Linked DNA regions of Homo sapiens: all the other regions are linked to region 4. The links are contacts of gene promoters, found by promoter capture Hi-C in blood cells and fetal thymus (Javierre and others, 2016). All regions are on one chromosome and are shown on one strand. Each heading gives the region's core, a stretch centred on a gene start or on the middle of the fragment in contact. The rest is flanking DNA. Distances are from core to core; before and after follow the strand shown.

Region 1 (2,700 bases), core at 35-2,534, 710 kb after region 4:
TCTTTGAGACTGTAGGTCTTCAACAGGTAAACTTAAGGCCACTAACATGTGACAGCAGTTATAGAGGTCCAGCAACGAAGGTGCTTTTTTTGAGTTAAATATTCAGGTAAACTAGTGGGGATTTTTTGACTGGCATCTGTCTATAAATGAAATATACTCACTAAAGTATCTGACTATTAGTCACAACTTAAAGAAACTGACTGAATGCAGGGTCAGAAGAGATGGGTTAAAGTCCCAGTTCTACCACTTACTAGCTTGTGGCTTTGGGGGTGTCAGTTAGTATCTCAAGTATCTCTGAGTCTTTTTCCTCAGATAGAAAATGAAGAGGTAGAGCTGTACCATCTCCAAGAGCTCTCTCTGATTCCATAATCTTCATAGCAAACTTGAAAATTGAAAAAAAAAATTCACATTTCCTTATTTGCTTATGTACTACCCCATGGTTACCCCCAACCCTATATGTTATCAAGCTAGAAAGCAAACCTCATGCAACTCACTGATTGGTTTCTAAACCCTCCTTGCAGTGGTCATCCTGGTGATTCTATCTGGGCCCTAAAGACACAAGGGCAGATCTCAAGGCTGAGCAAATTGTGTGTCACAATCATTCCCAAACACTCAGTAGAGTTTTGAACTTTGCTCTCCACTAATGAGTCACTCTGTTGTTTGACTTGATCTGCAAACAGTGACTTTTCAGTTTCCAATTTAACAGCCTTTGCCCTGCAGTTTCCTTTGTCAACACCTTCAAGGGCGTTGAAATACAAACTCCAAAATTACTAGACTTTCACCAGTTTTATATAAATTATCTATATGCCGGCTGGACACGGTGGCTCATGCCTGTAATCCCAGCACTTTGGGAAGCTGAGACGGGCAGATCACAAGGTCAGGAGTTCGAGACCAGTCTGGCCAACATGGTGAAACCCTGTCTCTACTAAAAATACAAAAAAAAATTAGCTGGACGTGGTGGCAGGCACCTGTAACCCCAGCTACTAGGGAGGCTGAGGCAGGAGAATCTCTTGAACCTGGGAGGCGGAAGTTTCAGTGAGCCAAGATTGCACCACTGCACTCCAGCCCAGGCGATAGTGCGAGACTCCATCTCAAAAATAAATAAATAAATAAATAAATAAATAAATAAATAAATAAATAATCTATATGCCTTCATGAACAGCAAGGGGAGTAAGATCAACATCACTGCATAAGGTCACTGTCCAAGGGATCCACCAGTGCCTGTGGCATGAGCAGGTATGGAATACAGACCTGACGCAGTAGTCATGAACAAAGAGAGCAGCAAAGACAGTGGCTGAGTCCTGGATCCAGTGAGACATCCAGAATTGGCGGAATGATCGAAAAAGTGCAGCAGCCTGGCCTACTCACCTTGTGTGCAGCCAGCTACAAGGAAAGAGGTTTCTTTTCTTTTCTACTAATAGTTTTCAATAGATGACGAGGTCCCCTTTTCAAAGTTCAGCTACATCTACTAAACAAAGGGCAAACTTCATGACTGTGCAGTATGAAAAGCATGACTCAATCCCACAAGGATCCGTAAGTCACCTATTATGCCATCTTAAAATACAAACATGAAGTCAGGTGTGATGGCTCACACCTATAATCCTAGCACTTTGGGAGGCTGAGGAAGGTGGATCACTTTGAGCTCAGGAGTTTGAGATAAACCCGTGTAACATGGTGAGACTCCATCTCTACCCAAAATACAAAAAATAAGCTGGGTGTGGTGGTTCGCGCCCGTAGTCCCAGCTACTGGGGAGGCTGAGGCAGGATTGCTTGAGCCCCAGAACCAGAGGTTGCAGTAAGCTGAGATTGCAACACTGCACTCCAGCCTAGGTGACAGAGTGAGACCCCATCTCAAAAAACAAAAAAAAAACCATGATTTTGATAATTGTACACTGGTCCTGTAGGAAAAGTCCCTGTTCTTAGAAATAACTAATGAGTTTAAGGGTAAAGTGGTACAATGTGTATAACATAGTCTCAAAATGGTTCATGAAAAAACTGTATTTATGCATACAGGTGTGTGGGGAGACAGGGAGAGGGAGGAAGGCAGGGAAGGATGAAGAGAAGGAGAGAGGGAGGGTGAAGAGAAGGAGAGAGGGAGGGTGAAGAGAATGAACTGTAAAGCAGGTGGGGCAACATATAAACAATAAGTGAATATAGGTAAAGGGCACATGGGAGTTCCTTACACTATTCTTACAACTTTTTGGTAAGTTTGAAATTATACAAGATAAAAAGTTACCCCCTAAGAGTCCCCTCAAAAGAAAGACAGCAATAAATCCCACATAATAAAATATGCTGTATTTTTCTATTGTTTCCTTGACACGTCACATACAAGTGCTGTAAAGAAACAGTTCTGCTGCATTAACTGTATTCTGAAGTCTACACCCTATCTACATTATAGTTGATTTGGGAAAATAAGGCTTCCTCTGACACATCCCTAGGTAGGTACTTGCTATTTTCTTAAAAGTAAAAACACTGCAGGGATAGGGGAGGAAATGGGAAAAAGTCATGTCCAAGAAAAAGCCAAAGATCCCTAGCAACTTTTACACAGTAGGGAAATAAATTATAATGAGGTACAAGTAAATCTGGTTATATTTAAATCATACTATATTTTTATGGCTAACGAGGGTAATATCCTGAAGTTAAATAGTCTATATTACATTTCAGCAGATTTCTACACAATGAAACTGGAGCTATTTCCAA
Region 2 (2,700 bases), core at 173-2,672, 580 kb after region 4:
GAAAAAGAGGGAGAGAAGAAAGAAGAAAGCAAACATGAGAGGATGGAATTTTATTTATTTCAAATGGAATTTAGTTATTTCAAATAAGTAATGGAAGAATCAGAGTGGAAAGAGTTATTTGTAAGGCCTCTGTATAGCAGGCTGACCCTAGTCATCTCTTACCCTGACCAGCTGGACAGGAGTCACTCACTGAGGCTCAGGCTATGTGGACTAATCCAACTTCAAAGTCAGGTTTATAGAAACATGTGTGGGCTTCTTTGGGGAAAGTTTATCTGAGACAGTGTTCCTCCGGACCAGCTTCGGGTGTCATTAGCAACAGAGAATCTTCTCATAGAGACAACTGAATGTAGTATGTTCCAGGATTTATTTTTTAAATGCTGGTTCCTGATTCTTCTGGGCAAAGCCGAAGAAGGCAGAGAGACACTGAGAGTGCACTGCATCAGCACAGATTGTGGAATGTTTAGGACCATTTCAGTTCCCAAAGAAAGAGCCCCTGAAGAGCTCATAGAAAGGGCTCGCAGGAGAGTAGAGAAGGACCAGGGAGTGCTGGACACTTCTAACAGTCACAGGTGCTGTGACTTCTAACAGTTGCAGGTAAACAGGGTCCCAGACCTTCCCATCTGGGACTGATGGATTGATTGTGAAGAATATATACTCATTCCACAAATTTAAAAAGGGAATTAATAATGAAAGACTTAAGTGTAAAGTAGAGCACCCAAGACTCTGCTCGGAAAGGTAGACGCAAATGATAACCACATAGGTAAATCCCCTGCATGTGGCTGGGAAGAGAGGGTGAGAAGTAGTCTATCTATGGTTAGTGGCCATTTTCTCTAGTTCACAGACCATGCATATTGATTATAGATTCAGAAAGTTACCCTAACTTTACAGCAATGACTTCTGAACTGTGCTTTCCTGGAATACTGGTTTCATAAGATGTTAGCAGTTATTTTGCAGGAGAAAGGTTTCAGGGAAACCGAAGAATGAATTGACATTGACAGGAAACTGTTGTGTATCCATTCAAAATACATTTTTGTTTGGCTGTGTTATCCTTGGAGAAAAGTAATAGTATCAGAAGAATCCTGGGCAATACAGCAAGGTCCTGTCTCTACAAAATTTTTTAAAAAATAGCCTGGGGTAGTGGCATGTTCCTATAGTTTTAGTTACTCAGGAATCTGAGGCAGGAGGATCACGAGCCCAGGAGTTCTAGACTGCGGTGAGCTATGATCATGGCACTGCACTCCAACCTGGGCAACATAGTGAGACCATGTCTCTAAAAATGATAATACATAAATAAAATTACATTTAAACAATCATTTTTAGGAAACACAATTTTTAGAGCTCAGAACAGAATATGACCCTGGACAGATGCATATGAAAGACGGTCTAGCAATGGCTTTCAAACTTCTTAAAACACAGGTTGCTGGTCCCACACCCAGAGTTTCTGATTCAGTAGGTTGGGATGGGATTCGTGTTTCTAACAAGTTCCCAAGTGATGGTGCTGATGCTCGTCCAAGGACCACAATTTAAGACTCACTTCCCTGCACCCGGCCCCATGCCCAACAGATAGGAGGCTCTTTTTACAGTAACAAGAAGTTTCTTTCTGAGGGTTACCACATTAAAAGAAATCAATTGAATGGGTTTCCACCATGTGTGAGGATATATTGGCTGACCCAGCATCAAAGTCAGGGTTAGAAACATCCATGGGCTTATTTGGGGAAAGTTTATTCCAGACAGTCTTCCTCCAGAACAGCTTCAGGTGTCCTTAGCAATGGAGAATCTTCTCATAGAGGCAACTGAATGTAGCATGTTCCAAAATTCATTCTTTAAATGCTGGTTCATGATTCTTCCGGGCAAAGCTGAAGGGGCCAGCTAATAAATCAACACATATTTCCTGACATTTCCTGACAGGGAGACATGTTCCTTCAAAAATGGGAACAAAATTCATAATGAATTTAGTGGGGAGGCATAGTTCTTCAAAAATAAAATTCAGTTTGAACATTTTCAATCTGAGATATTTGGGGATTAAAAAAACAGATATAGGTTCTGAAGGGACTACTCAAGCAAATGTATATTAGGAAATCAAGGAGGCCCTAGAAGGCCAGAATATGGACATGAGTCAGCCAAATTGTGGAGTTATGGACAAAAGCTAACAAACACATCTTGAAATCTCCAGTGGGACGCAAATTCTTTTAACCTCAGGTCAGCCCCAAATCATGGTACCAATTTCTGTTAACATGCTCTAAAAAATGACATGAAGAACTTAGAATAGGTTCTTGGCATATTAACAAATATATCTAGAAAAATATGAAGTAGTCCTAAGCAGAAAGGTTTGAAAGAAATTTGGATAGTTAAGCCTGAAAAAAAAGTGAAGGTGATTCTATCTTTAAATTAATGAAAATTTTTGTCTCTGGCCTTTCATTGCAGTGGTAAATTAGGCAAGAATAAATGGCCTTAATTTTAAAATAGATGTGATTTTAGTTAACTGTGAGGTAAAATCTTCTTTAAAATGGGGTAATGAAACACTGGAGGCTTGTTATTTTGGGCCTGGAAATTTGTAGAGATGCTAATTGTAGCTAACAGTACTTATGCTTTTTTTTTTTTTTTTTTGACAGAGTCTTGCTCTGTCACCAAGCTGGAGTGCAGTGGTGTGATCTTGGCTCACTGCAACCTCCACCACCCGGGTTCAAGCGATTCTTCTGC
Region 3 (2,700 bases), core at 100-2,599, 650 kb after region 4:
GTTATATAGTTGATGAATGTCCTGGCTCACAGGTTCAGTCATGAAGAACCTGTTGTGTAAACATCTGGTCTAACTACTTGTCCTAGACTTCGTAACTGCTGACCCCACCCTCTCTCTTCAGGCTCTGCTCTGTCTCATTTATTTCAGGAGAAATCTGACAGCCTCACCTTCTCACATAGGCTTGTAGGTCAGATAAGGTAGAGGAATGGTATCAGAAGCAGGAACAGCACTGGTCTTAGGCATAACTAGTGAAAAATTTTGAATGTGATGAAGAAGAGCTCCCCTGTCATTGCCAAATCTGGGCACACAAATACGGTCACACTGTGAGGTACTGTGGGTTAGAACTTCAACATATGAATTTAGGTGGGGACACAGTTCAAACCATAACAGGCATGAAGGATCAATAGAAATCAGGCTGGCAAACGGAAGCAAAAGGAAGTGTTTCCAACCTAAGCAAAGAAGCAAGAGGAATAGGGCACCTTAGGAGAACTTGATAGGAGCCAGGTCAGAGAGGGCTGTGCTAAAGACTGAGAAGTACACTCTAAGGATAACGGAAAACTATTGAAGGACTTTCATTAAGGAAATAATACAATTGGCTTTGCTTTCTAGAAGAAATATTTGGATATTGTGTGTAGAAAGAGGAGCATGGTTGCAGGAGGAGGCCAGGGGAAGCTATTGCTGTTCTTCAGCGGTGAGATAACCATGGCCTGAGCCAGGGTAGTGCAGGCCAGATGGACAGAAGTGAGGGGAGTCGATGTAACTGACAAGCACTGGGAATTCCTGGATGAGAGAGCTGAGCATGAAAGAAGACTGGAGGATAACACCCATCTTTCTGACTTGGGAAATGAGAAGACCAAGGCATGGACTGTGAAAGGATGACAATATACAGGAGAAGGTAAAGGAGTCAGTCAGAAGTAGACCCTGTAACCAAGAGACCACCCAATATTATCCACCCAACATCTCTACTAAGTGCCACATTTTACATTATGAAAGGAAAGAAGAAAAACTACTTAGGTATCCAACCTGGCTTGGTTATAGTGATGAGACTTTTATCTCTTCTATTTCAAATATTGAAAAATTAACCCAAAAATCGAAATGCATCCTTCTATCCGGTTTTACTTTCTTCATCTCCCTTTATATTTCTAGACCCTTCACAATGCAGCTGAGGACAAAAAACGTAAGGATGGTTGCTATAGTTTATAAGGTGTCTGGAAACAAAAATATGTTTCCATTTAGGAACACTAACTACATATATACCAGACACGGAGTTAAATTTTCTACATACATTTTCCATTTAATTCTCACAACCCTGTGAGGTAGTTATTATTATCTTCATTTTACAGACAAGGAAACAGATGCTCAGAAAGGTGAAGTCACCTGCCCAGGTTTACACAGCTATGCAGATTATTGAATTCAGCTGTCCCTCACTCCAAAGGGACATGCTCAGCTCTCTCATTCAGGAATTCCCAGTGCTTGTCAGTTACACCGACTCCCCTCACTTCTGTCCATCTGGCCTGCACTACCCTGTTAACTGCTGTGGTACTCTACCTCCAGAAAGCCCTCTTTTGAAAATTGGGATGAAGTTAAAGCCATTCCACAAAAGCCTTCTTTTTTTCATACCTTTTTTTACTGAAAAATAATAAAATATTCTTAGTAAAACATCCCACGAACTTGAGCTCCATTTTAGAATACGGTATGAATAATGCTCCTGGAACTGTGCAACCCAGCAGGTCCATAACTGTGCTGGCTGGGATCAAACTACCAGGCCTCAGGCTTAATTCAGGCCATGTATAGAGACTGCCAACCAACTCACTTATACGAACAGACTTGTTAAGTTACTGATCAAACTGTCCAAGCATCTGGGCCATCCCTTGGCCAGCAATGCAGAGAAACTGGAGCCCTGTGATCATCAGGGAATATAACCTTGAACTCCTGGCTGTTCTGTTGTATTTTCTTTACTTTGGATTCTTTTTTTTTTTTTCTTTTTTTTTTTTTGACGAAGTCTCACTCTGTTGCCCAAGCTGGAGTGCAGTGGCGTGATCTCGGCTCACTACAATCTCCACCTCCCAGGTTCAAGCGATTCTCCTGCTTCAGCCTCCTGAGTAGCTGAGACTACAGGCAGGCGCCACCGTGCCCGGCTAATTTTTGTATTTTTAGTAGAGACGGGATTTCACTATGTTGGCCAGGCAGGTCTTGAACTCCTGACCTCATGATCCACCCGCCTCAGCCTCCCAAAGTGCTGGGATTACAGGCGTGAGCCACAGCGCCTGGCCTAAAACTTGACAAAGACATGTTTATCCAATGCCCTTCAAGGACTCCAGAAGTCCATGTTGGCTGGTTGCCCTCTTCTCCCAATGAGAAAGTGGTGAGATCTATGAATTTGTTCACATATTTGCTGGGCAGCTGCTGTGTTTCATAATCTGGGAGATGTGATGGCTAACAATCAAGACAACAGTTTCTGCCATGGAAGAGATTATAATCAGATCAGCAAGAAGATAAACAGAAAATATATGTGTAATAACTGAGATAACAGGAATATGTAGTACAAACCAAGAACTAGAGGAAACCACAGAAGGCTTTGGGTAGTGTGGTTTTTGAAAGCAGTATTGCATGTAGATTAATGGAGAACAGAAGGAATGACATCCTTTTCAAGGGGCATTGTATGAACAAGGAGACAGGAGCAAGAATGAGAATGAGAAA
Region 4 (2,700 bases), core at 185-2,684:
CCTCGGGTTCTCCTGTCTCCACCTAGGCCTTCAGATTCTCCAGTTTTCTATTTCCACTTGAAAGCTCCATCTTCTCCATTGAGCAACCTCTTAAAAACCAGCCCAGGGGAAGTCTGGGTAAATCAGTTAAAGAGATGCTAAGGGGACACCGGAGAGATATTGACTGAGTCAGCCGGGAGTCATGGCTGAAAGCAGCTTGGCTTTCCCTGATGCGGTTGGAGACAGCAAAACATCCTTACTACCTGCATCCTTACTACCCCTCTGCTTCTCATCCCCTGGCTCCTGGGCTGCTGTGCAACAACAAAAGGACTGTCACACAGAAAACTGGAATGGAGAAGTTTCTGAAATAGTCATGAGCAATAAGGAAGCAATGAGGACTGATGGTCCCATCCTCCTTCCTGTGGCTCCTCTGAGGCCTCAGCCTGACTCTCCCATTCACCCATTTTTGAAATAAAGAGTTTCTGAAATAGAGACAATTTATCTAATATCCTTGACCTATTGACCAGAAACCAGAAAGGTAAGAAGTGCTATCTAGAGGTGAGAACCAGAGAGTAATCTGGTGAGGCCTTGTTGCGATGCTGACCTCCTGCATCAAAGTACACAGACTGGGAGTCAGAAGCCCTGGCTGTCACCCCAGCTCTGTGACTAAGCCTCTGAGGGACCATCACAAGGGCATCAACAGAGTAGGTACTCATTTGCCAGGTATCAGACCAGGCGATTAAGAAATACTAACTTTAATAATTTGGCAAATCAGCAATTATCTCTGATTTTCCCAGTGGAAAATAATGAAGGGGTTAACGTAGCTCATCTGTGGTCTCCTTGATTTCTGACATTCTGAGATTCTGTGATCTACGAACACAGAAACTAGCCCCAGCAGAACAATCATGCCTTCTCTTGGGCTCCATCAGCACTTGGTACTCAGTGCTAGTGTACATCAGTGACTACTTCCTGATCTGTTACATTTCCTGTGTGGGTTTGTTTCCCTGAGACCATATGCTCTTCAAGGGCAGACACTGTTTTCGTCTCCTGTGGTCCTCCTCCCAGCTCAGTACCTAGGGGAGACAGGCCTTAGAGTGGGTTGTAGATTGTCAGCAGAAACCAGGCAACACTTTGCTTGATGTTGGTGCTAGATGGCTCCTGAAACACTTGCCTTGGGTTTAAGCCCCTCCCTTTTGTTTCTATCTCCAGATGCTGATTTGCTACAACCACTCACAACCAGGCCTTCTGGCCATAAAAGGATAAAAGCCTACTAGTGGTGACCTTGCCCATCACCAAGGACTAAGAGCCAGGTAGGTTCCTCCTCAACTCTTACTCTGTGTTTCCCAACTGTCCCATGGCTCAGAGTACCCACCTCCACCTGTGCAAGCCTCTGTTCTAAGCGCCCGGCTCCTCGCGTCCACACCGACTCCCTCTCTGGCTGCTGCCACTTCGGAGTGAGAAACTGAGCTGCTGCTTCAGTTCCGTATTCAGGTTTTCGTCATTTCCTGCCACCCCATCCTCACAGCTACTTCCTGAAATTTGAGTCAGTTCCTTCTGCTTTAGACACTTAAATTTTAAAAGGATTAAATGTTTCTGTGCCTGGTCTTTTGCAAGGTTTTGACAATGGGGGTCATAGAGCAGTCATAGAAAATGCTGCTTTGACTCTGAGTTTGTAATCCAGTGAGAGAAACAAACATTCAACCAGAAAACACATTAGAGAATGCTGTAGAACAGCATTGTGTCCTAAATAGGGTGGCAGTTACATTTGAGACAGTAAAGGAATTCAGAGCATTTGGTATTGGGTGTATTCATCAAGAAAGGCTTTATGGGAAAAGTGATTTATATGTGGGTTTTGAAGCATAAGACTTAAAAAGAAACTCACCCCTATATTACCCACAGCACTTAAAAGTGGAGTTTTCATATAGATGTTCAAATAAACGTCGACCAATTGAATGCCAGAAGAGAATAACTCATGAGGGAAAAGGCAAGACATGGAAGGAGAGTTTCCTAGCTTGTTTGGGGCACTGTGGAGTCTGAGCTAACAAACTAAAGATTTGGCTCTAGAGCGTAGGAAGAATTCTGAAAGAACCAGGTGCTGGTCAGCTGATGGAAGAAGGTCTTTGTGGTATCCTGTTTTACTGCGTGTCAAGACTTGCTGCCCCTCCCTTCCCTCTTGAAGTCAGACTTACTCAGGTGACTTGTTTTGGCCAGTGACAGATACCACTTTCTGGCGGAGGCCGTAAGACCACTGCAAGCTTTGCCATGCTTTCACCACTGCCCAAGGCAACCTGCAATTCTCCATATTGGCTCCTCCAGCAGACTGGGTCCCTGAGTGAGAAAGAACACAAGTGGAGCCCCATCCACCATGTGGGGGAATTGGAGTCTTTCACTAAAAAATAGTCCTTTGTTTTGGCTACTGAGAATTTGAGGGTGTCTGTTATTGTATCTGACCTAGCCTTTCCTAATCTTGATTGTGGACTTCTTGATTTGTTCACAACGGTGCATCCTCCAAGGAGTTTAAGCAGGACTGGATGAAACTGGCCCATGATACAGGCACTTTTCTGCATTAGGAATATGAAGCCTCTGTCACTTCCAAATCTAAGGATTCTATGCCTGGGGGAGCTTTATTTATTCCTTCTACTTTATTACCTATTTATCATGGTGGTACCAAAGTTATGATAAGGAAGAGTACGTTTGTACAAGAGAAAAATCACTTGGAAT
Region 5 (2,700 bases), core at 78-2,577, 920 kb after region 4:
AGATTTTCCAAAGCACAGTCTATGCTTTCATTCATGTGATCTTTGTTCTGTGTAATCCACCCCCATCGCTGCTCTCTGCATGACAGATGATGAAAAAGGGAACTCTGAAGAGAGAGAGGGAGAGAGAGACACACCTCATTCTCATTCTTCACCTGATTTTCCTCTTAGAAAGTCCCCTACTCATCATGCAAGGTCTTACTGAAATGCCACTACTATAGAAACTTTTCTCCAATCTTGTCTCTAAATTACAACGAACCACTGATTTCTGTTATCCTAATACTTTATATGTATCTCAATGCAAATACGATACCAAAACCTTTTACCCTGCTCTCTGCCTTGGAGGTGGTACTGAGGGCTGACCTCTAAGTACCACATCAGCTCCATTCTCTGATTACTCATTGGGTTCTGCAGTGGGAGGTACCAGCACGAGATTGGAAGGCACACGGAGAGAGTACTTGGGATGCTTATACTCCCCTGGCTGTCTTCCGAAAGCAGTCATGGGTTCTACCTGCTGGCACTTGGTATAGCTCTTACCAAGTTCAGGAGATGCCCCCTCCCTTGCCCCTTCAGCCTAGATGGTAAGGGGAGGAGGCTACTTCACCATCTCTCAATGGTTTCCTTAACCCTTTGCCCACACCTGTGTAAATAATTTCTTTATTAAATTATCTTCAATTATTAATTTTGAGTATACCATCTGTATACTGCCAGGACTTTTCGTGATACACCAGGTAACAGTATTAATCTATGTTTTATTTCTCCACCTCCTACTTCACCCCTCACTCCAAAGAGAGGGGATCTGTGTCTAATTCATCTTTATAATCTTAACACAGTGCCAGGCATATCAAAGGCCTTCAATACGCGTTGATTGAATTAAATAATGCCCTGTTGGGCCAGAGGGGAACCTGACTCCAGCCCTGGCTTAGGGAGCACAGGAGAGAACCCAGTGTATTTTTCTAAATATGGGTGTGTAGGGAGAATTGGGGGGAAAGGAGTGGGATGCCCAACAGAAAAGGAAAGGAATACTGATTCCTGTGTTTTAATGTGCCAGGCATTCTACAGACTTTATCTCATTTAATCTTCATTATAATAACATGAAATAGTTATGGCTGTGCCCACTGTACAGATGCTATTGACTGAGGCTACATAACTAATAAAATTGCAGACCTCAGGATTTTGACCCAGGATTTGTCTGGCAGTAACGTCTGTCCCAAAGGGCGACACAATCCTGAGGCAGCTGTTCGCAAACTCGAGGCCTCAATCTTTGACGGAAGCGGTTTTCAGAGAAAAGAAGTTCGAGGCACAAGCCTGTTGGGTGGGGCGCAACTGCAGTCCCAGCGAGCTGAGGATGGCTGCGCCAGGCCCCCTTCCTGCCGCTGCTCTGAGTCCAGGGGCTCCGACCCCCAGAGAACTTATGCACGGAGTTGCAGGTGTTACTTCCAGAGCCGGACGAGATCGGGAGGCGGGGAGCGTGCTGCCGGCCGGGAACCGTGGGGCGCGGAAGGCCTCCCGGCGCTCTTCCTCCCGGAGTATGGTGAGGAGCGCGGGGGACGGGTGCGGGAAGGGGACAGCAGGGCTGAGCCTGGGGCCCGCAAGACCCAGCAGCCCGAGCGGGCGCAGAGACCCCACGCCACGCACAACCCTCTCTTCTAGGGGGCGCCGACTACACTGACTTCCCTGTTCCGGAAGAGGGGGATGCGTGCTGCTTCTTTTTCCTTAGCATTTCTGGTGGTTTTTTTTTTTTTTCCCTTAAAATTTAAAAGTTCTTTATAAAGTTTGAAAGGATATGAGTCCTTTATTCGTGATATGTGTTATGAATATGTCCTCCCAATTTATTTTTTGTTTTTTGAGTTTGCTTATGGGGGGCTTTTGTTTCTCTTTGCCATGCAAATATTTTAAATTTTGTGTGGCAAGACTTACCAGTCTTTTATTTTATGACGTCTAGACTTTTAGTCATATTTTAATATATGACTTTTAGTCATACTCTTCCCTACACCCAAGTTATAGAAGAGTTCACTCATGCTTGCTTCTAGTACTTGAACTGATGTATTTTTTACATTTAGATCTATAATACATTTGGAGTGTGTTATTGTGTGTGGTTTGAGGAGTGAATCTAATTATTTTTTTTCAAATGGGTATCAAGTGTCCCAACACCATTTATTATAAAGGTCGTCACTGTCCCAGTAACTTGAGATACCAGCTTTATCATGTACTAGACTTTCATATGTGGTTCGGGTATTTCTGGACCTTCTATTTTCATCCATTGACCCGTTTATTCATCTGCTTTAGAGAGGCTTTGCTGTATGTTTTAATGTCAGGGCTAGTCTTCCTAGAGAGTGCTTCCTTGTCACTATTTTCCTAGCTATTCTTGTTGTTTATTTTTCCTTATGAACTTTTCTGATGTATGATCAGTTTAAAAAAAAAAAAGAAAAGCTCTTTGGAATTTTTATTGGGATTGCATTAAATTAATAAATTACAGAGAGCTGATATCTTTAGGTGGTGTTGACATGGTCTAACCTACTGTGCTGTGAAAGATTGAAAATTTGAGTATGTAATGTATATGATATTAAATTGTGAATTGGTGGGACATATGTAACAGCTTTTCAACAATTGTAGATACTGGTACTTCATATCCTCTTAAGGAAAATTTGCCTCCAAATTTTAAGCTGGAAAGTCACTAGAATAACTTTTAAAAACAATTAC
Region 6 (2,700 bases), core at 132-2,631, 850 kb after region 4:
ACAGAAGTAGGGCTCAGAAATTTAAGATAAAAATTTAAAGGACCTTGTACGATCTGATGTGTGACAAGAACTGAGAAGCATAATTCATTCTAAAATTCTTTTTGCCTAACATCCAAATAATAACAAAAACTTTCGAGAACTAAAGGACATGAACTCCCAGCTTATAAAGGTCCATGGAATGCCCTTAAACAAAAAAATACCCATACCTAGACACATCATCATGGAATTTTGAGGGTTAAAAATATCCTAAAAGCTTCTAGAGATTGGGGTAAAGGAAGATCACATACAAACAAAGAATCAGATTGGCTTTGGATTTCAAGAGTAACCCTGGAAGAAAGAAAACAATAGAACTATGACTTGCAAACTTGAAGTAGAAGTTACTTTCAACTCAGAATTTTATACCCAGACAAATTACTGATCAAATGCGAAGGAAGAATAAAGATTTTTTTCAGTCATGTAAGATGTCAGGAAGTTTTTGTTTTCCATGTATCCTTTCTCAGAAAGCTACTAAAAAATGTACTCCAAGGAAATAAGTAAACCAAGAAAGAAAATACAGGAAACAGTAAACAGGGGAACCAGTACAAAAGAGGGCAAAGAAGTTTAAGGATGATGAAAAGAGAAGTCCCTGGATAACAACTATGAAATAGGCCTAGAAAGTAACCAGTCCTAATTGCATTAAGAGGTTCCAGGTTAGCTGTCTCAGGAAATGAAGCAAACAACAACAAAAAATACTAACTTGTAGAAAAACAAAAATTTATTAAGAGAAGAAATGATATCACAGTACTCTACATGGGTCAGCTGTGAACATTTATAGAGTTACAATATTGTAAACACTAAATATTGGTTTAGTAGACACACCTGTGATAACTATATTTGGAGGATGGTAGAGACAGTGTGTGCATATGGCAGGTGAGGTGAATATATATGTGAAACACTAAGGAACATCTTGCTTAGACGAAAGCCAATAATATCTATAATTGCTATATCATGATATAGCAATAAAAGCAAGTCACTGTATTTATAAATATGAAAGCAAACACAAGAGGAAACAGCTAGAAGAAAGAAAATGGTAGCTTTTCAAGTGCAGAGGCTGGGACAGGGAACAGCTGCTTTTCAGGTATTCTAATTCCAAAATTTTATTTTTTTAATGTTGATAAAACAAGGAACTTGAACAATCTCACGACGGTTATATTAGATCTTCAGTATTATTTCATGGTGTTAAACTACATCTAGTTTGTTCTGCCAAAGAGACTGAACGGCTAAAACCAATCTTTAACGATCAATGTGAACACAGTACAAACAGCCCTATTTGAATCCCAACTCCACTACTTTGTGAAGTAAGGCGAGTTACCCAATCACCTTGCACACGTAATCACCTCCTCAAAATGGTTTTGCAAGAACAAGTAAGTGAAAGCACCTGATGCAGAACCTGACCCATCAATAGATGTCAGAGTACTTTCAGCGGGTCTTTCTGTTCCCTAGCTGACCCCAAGCTGCCTATTCTGACCCCAAGCTGCCTATTCTGACCCCAACCTGCCTTGTTGCTCACAGAGTATATAGGCACTCATGGACTCAGCACATATCCCTCCTCACGCTGGAAAAACAATCATGATGAGTAAGCAGACTTATCTTTGTATATGAAGGGCAGCATTATTCTTGTTAATATGAAGGAGATTATCTCCATTATCCACATTCTGGATTACTGCCTGCTTTCAAGAACTGTCCCAATTAGTCTACAACACTTGGACAGAACCATTTTTTCATGTTGTTTTGTAGGTTTGTAACATCTTTAAAAAAAAGAAAGAAAGAAACATACATTCCCACAGTCTTCATCCCTACTCTTCCAATGTACAACCTCAAAATTTTCTAATGCAGGCCCTATCTGGCCCTCAGTTGGCCTCAGGCCATCTCCTGCTTACTGCAGCAAAAGACAGAAATCAGCCCAAATCAGCTAATTTAACTGTTTACCATTTCCAGTGTTTTCTTCCCTATTATGGCTAAATTCATAACACCATGCAAAGTACAAAGATACCTTAAAACAAAACAAGGAGTTATCTTTATCACTAGGTCAGTCATCTTTACTTGCAAGACCAATCAAAGGTCTTAACTGATTTTATACACAGTACTCATACATCTAAAAACAATCTGGTAGACTTAAAAGCACAGACATCATAAATCATTAAAACTCTATTTTATCATTAATTCAACAAACACTGTGCTAAAACACTGAAGATGCAAAGAATAAGATATAATCCTATTCTCAAATGTAAAGGGAAAAGGGAAAAGGTAAAAGGACCATTGAGAGCAACAGAGAATAAAGAAAATAATGCAAGAAACAACTGACAGCAATTCCAGGTTACGTATAAAATAATTCTTAACATAGTTGAGACTAAAGAAAATTATAAAAATTGAACACAGCTCTGAGACTCCTGACAGTCAAAGTATAGAGAAACAGGATGGCTTACAAAACAAAAATAATCTAATAAAACCAATCATTAGTTTAAAAAAAAAAAGCTTAATACTGGGGTCTTAGGAAGAATTTGTCTCTAAGGTCTGTATTTTATAGGAACCAATACATAAATTAGAAATTTCTTCATTAGATATTAATGAAGAAAAGATGTTTTTAATGGCCCCTTTGGTAAGTATCAGCTCTAGATAAGATGTATATTAAATCATAGTTCTGTGAAGAAACTTCTACGA

What was found. The method cuts DNA at HindIII sites, captures the fragments that hold promoters and counts their contacts. A CHiCAGO score of 5 or more calls a contact.
Region 1: a contact is called between a fragment that was not itself captured here and the fragment with the promoter of HCLS1 in region 4, in 3 of 17 cell types (activated CD4 T cells, erythroblasts and naive CD8 T cells). The highest score is 7.0, in activated CD4 T cells.
Region 2: a contact is called between a fragment that was not itself captured here and the fragment with the promoter of HCLS1 in region 4, in 1 of 17 cell types (erythroblasts). The highest score is 5.1, in erythroblasts.
Region 3: a fragment that was not itself captured here is called in contact with the fragment with the promoter of HCLS1 in region 4 in 1 of 17 cell types (M0 macrophages); the score reaches 5.9 in M0 macrophages.
Region 5: a contact is called between the fragment with the promoter of PARP15 here and the fragment with the promoter of HCLS1 in region 4, in 1 of 17 cell types (total CD4 T cells). The highest score is 6.5, in total CD4 T cells.
Region 6: a contact is called between a fragment that was not itself captured here and the fragment with the promoter of HCLS1 in region 4, in 3 of 17 cell types (naive CD4 T cells, monocytes and total CD8 T cells). The highest score is 6.7, in naive CD4 T cells.

What each region holds. Positions count from the first base shown.
Region 1 is chr3:122,365,085-122,367,784 of GRCh38, forward strand. The region is part of intron 3 of MIX23 (mitochondrial matrix import factor 23); the gene reads right to left. Among named protein-coding and RNA genes, the nearest start is that of MIX23, 17 kb to the right of the region's middle. RefSeq lists an enhancer at 560-704 and a cis regulatory region at 625-638. The HindIII fragment of the contact is 6,376 bases long and covers 1-2,700 here.
Region 2 is chr3:122,234,524-122,237,223 of GRCh38, forward strand. All of the region lies in intron 1 of CASR (calcium sensing receptor), which reads left to right. Among named protein-coding and RNA genes, the nearest start is that of CASR, 52 kb to the left of the region's middle. The HindIII fragment of the contact is 3,458 bases long and covers 1-2,700 here.
Region 3 is chr3:122,310,504-122,313,203 of GRCh38, forward strand. No RefSeq gene overlaps it. Among named protein-coding and RNA genes, the nearest start is that of CSTA, 13 kb to the right of the region's middle. The HindIII fragment of the contact is 3,199 bases long and covers 1-2,700 here.
Region 4 is chr3:121,659,469-121,662,168 of GRCh38, forward strand. It overlaps HCLS1 (hematopoietic cell-specific Lyn substrate 1), which reads right to left and starts at 1,435. Exons shown (of 14, transcript NM_005335.6): 1 at 1,352-1,435. RefSeq lists enhancers at 1,278-1,467, 1,658-1,707. The HindIII fragment of the contact is 5,970 bases long and covers 1-2,232 here.
Region 5 is chr3:122,576,323-122,579,022 of GRCh38, forward strand. PARP15 (poly(ADP-ribose) polymerase family member 15) reads left to right here and starts at 1,328. Exons shown (of 12, transcript NM_001113523.3): 1 at 1,328-1,531. The coding sequence starts at 1,346. RefSeq lists an enhancer at 1,295-1,574 and a silencer at 1,635-1,684. The HindIII fragment of the contact is 6,929 bases long and covers 1-2,700 here.
Region 6 is chr3:122,509,713-122,512,412 of GRCh38, forward strand. All of the region lies in intron 1 of KPNA1 (karyopherin subunit alpha 1), which reads right to left. Among named protein-coding and RNA genes, the nearest start is that of KPNA1, 3.9 kb to the right of the region's middle. The HindIII fragment of the contact is 2,261 bases long and covers 252-2,512 here.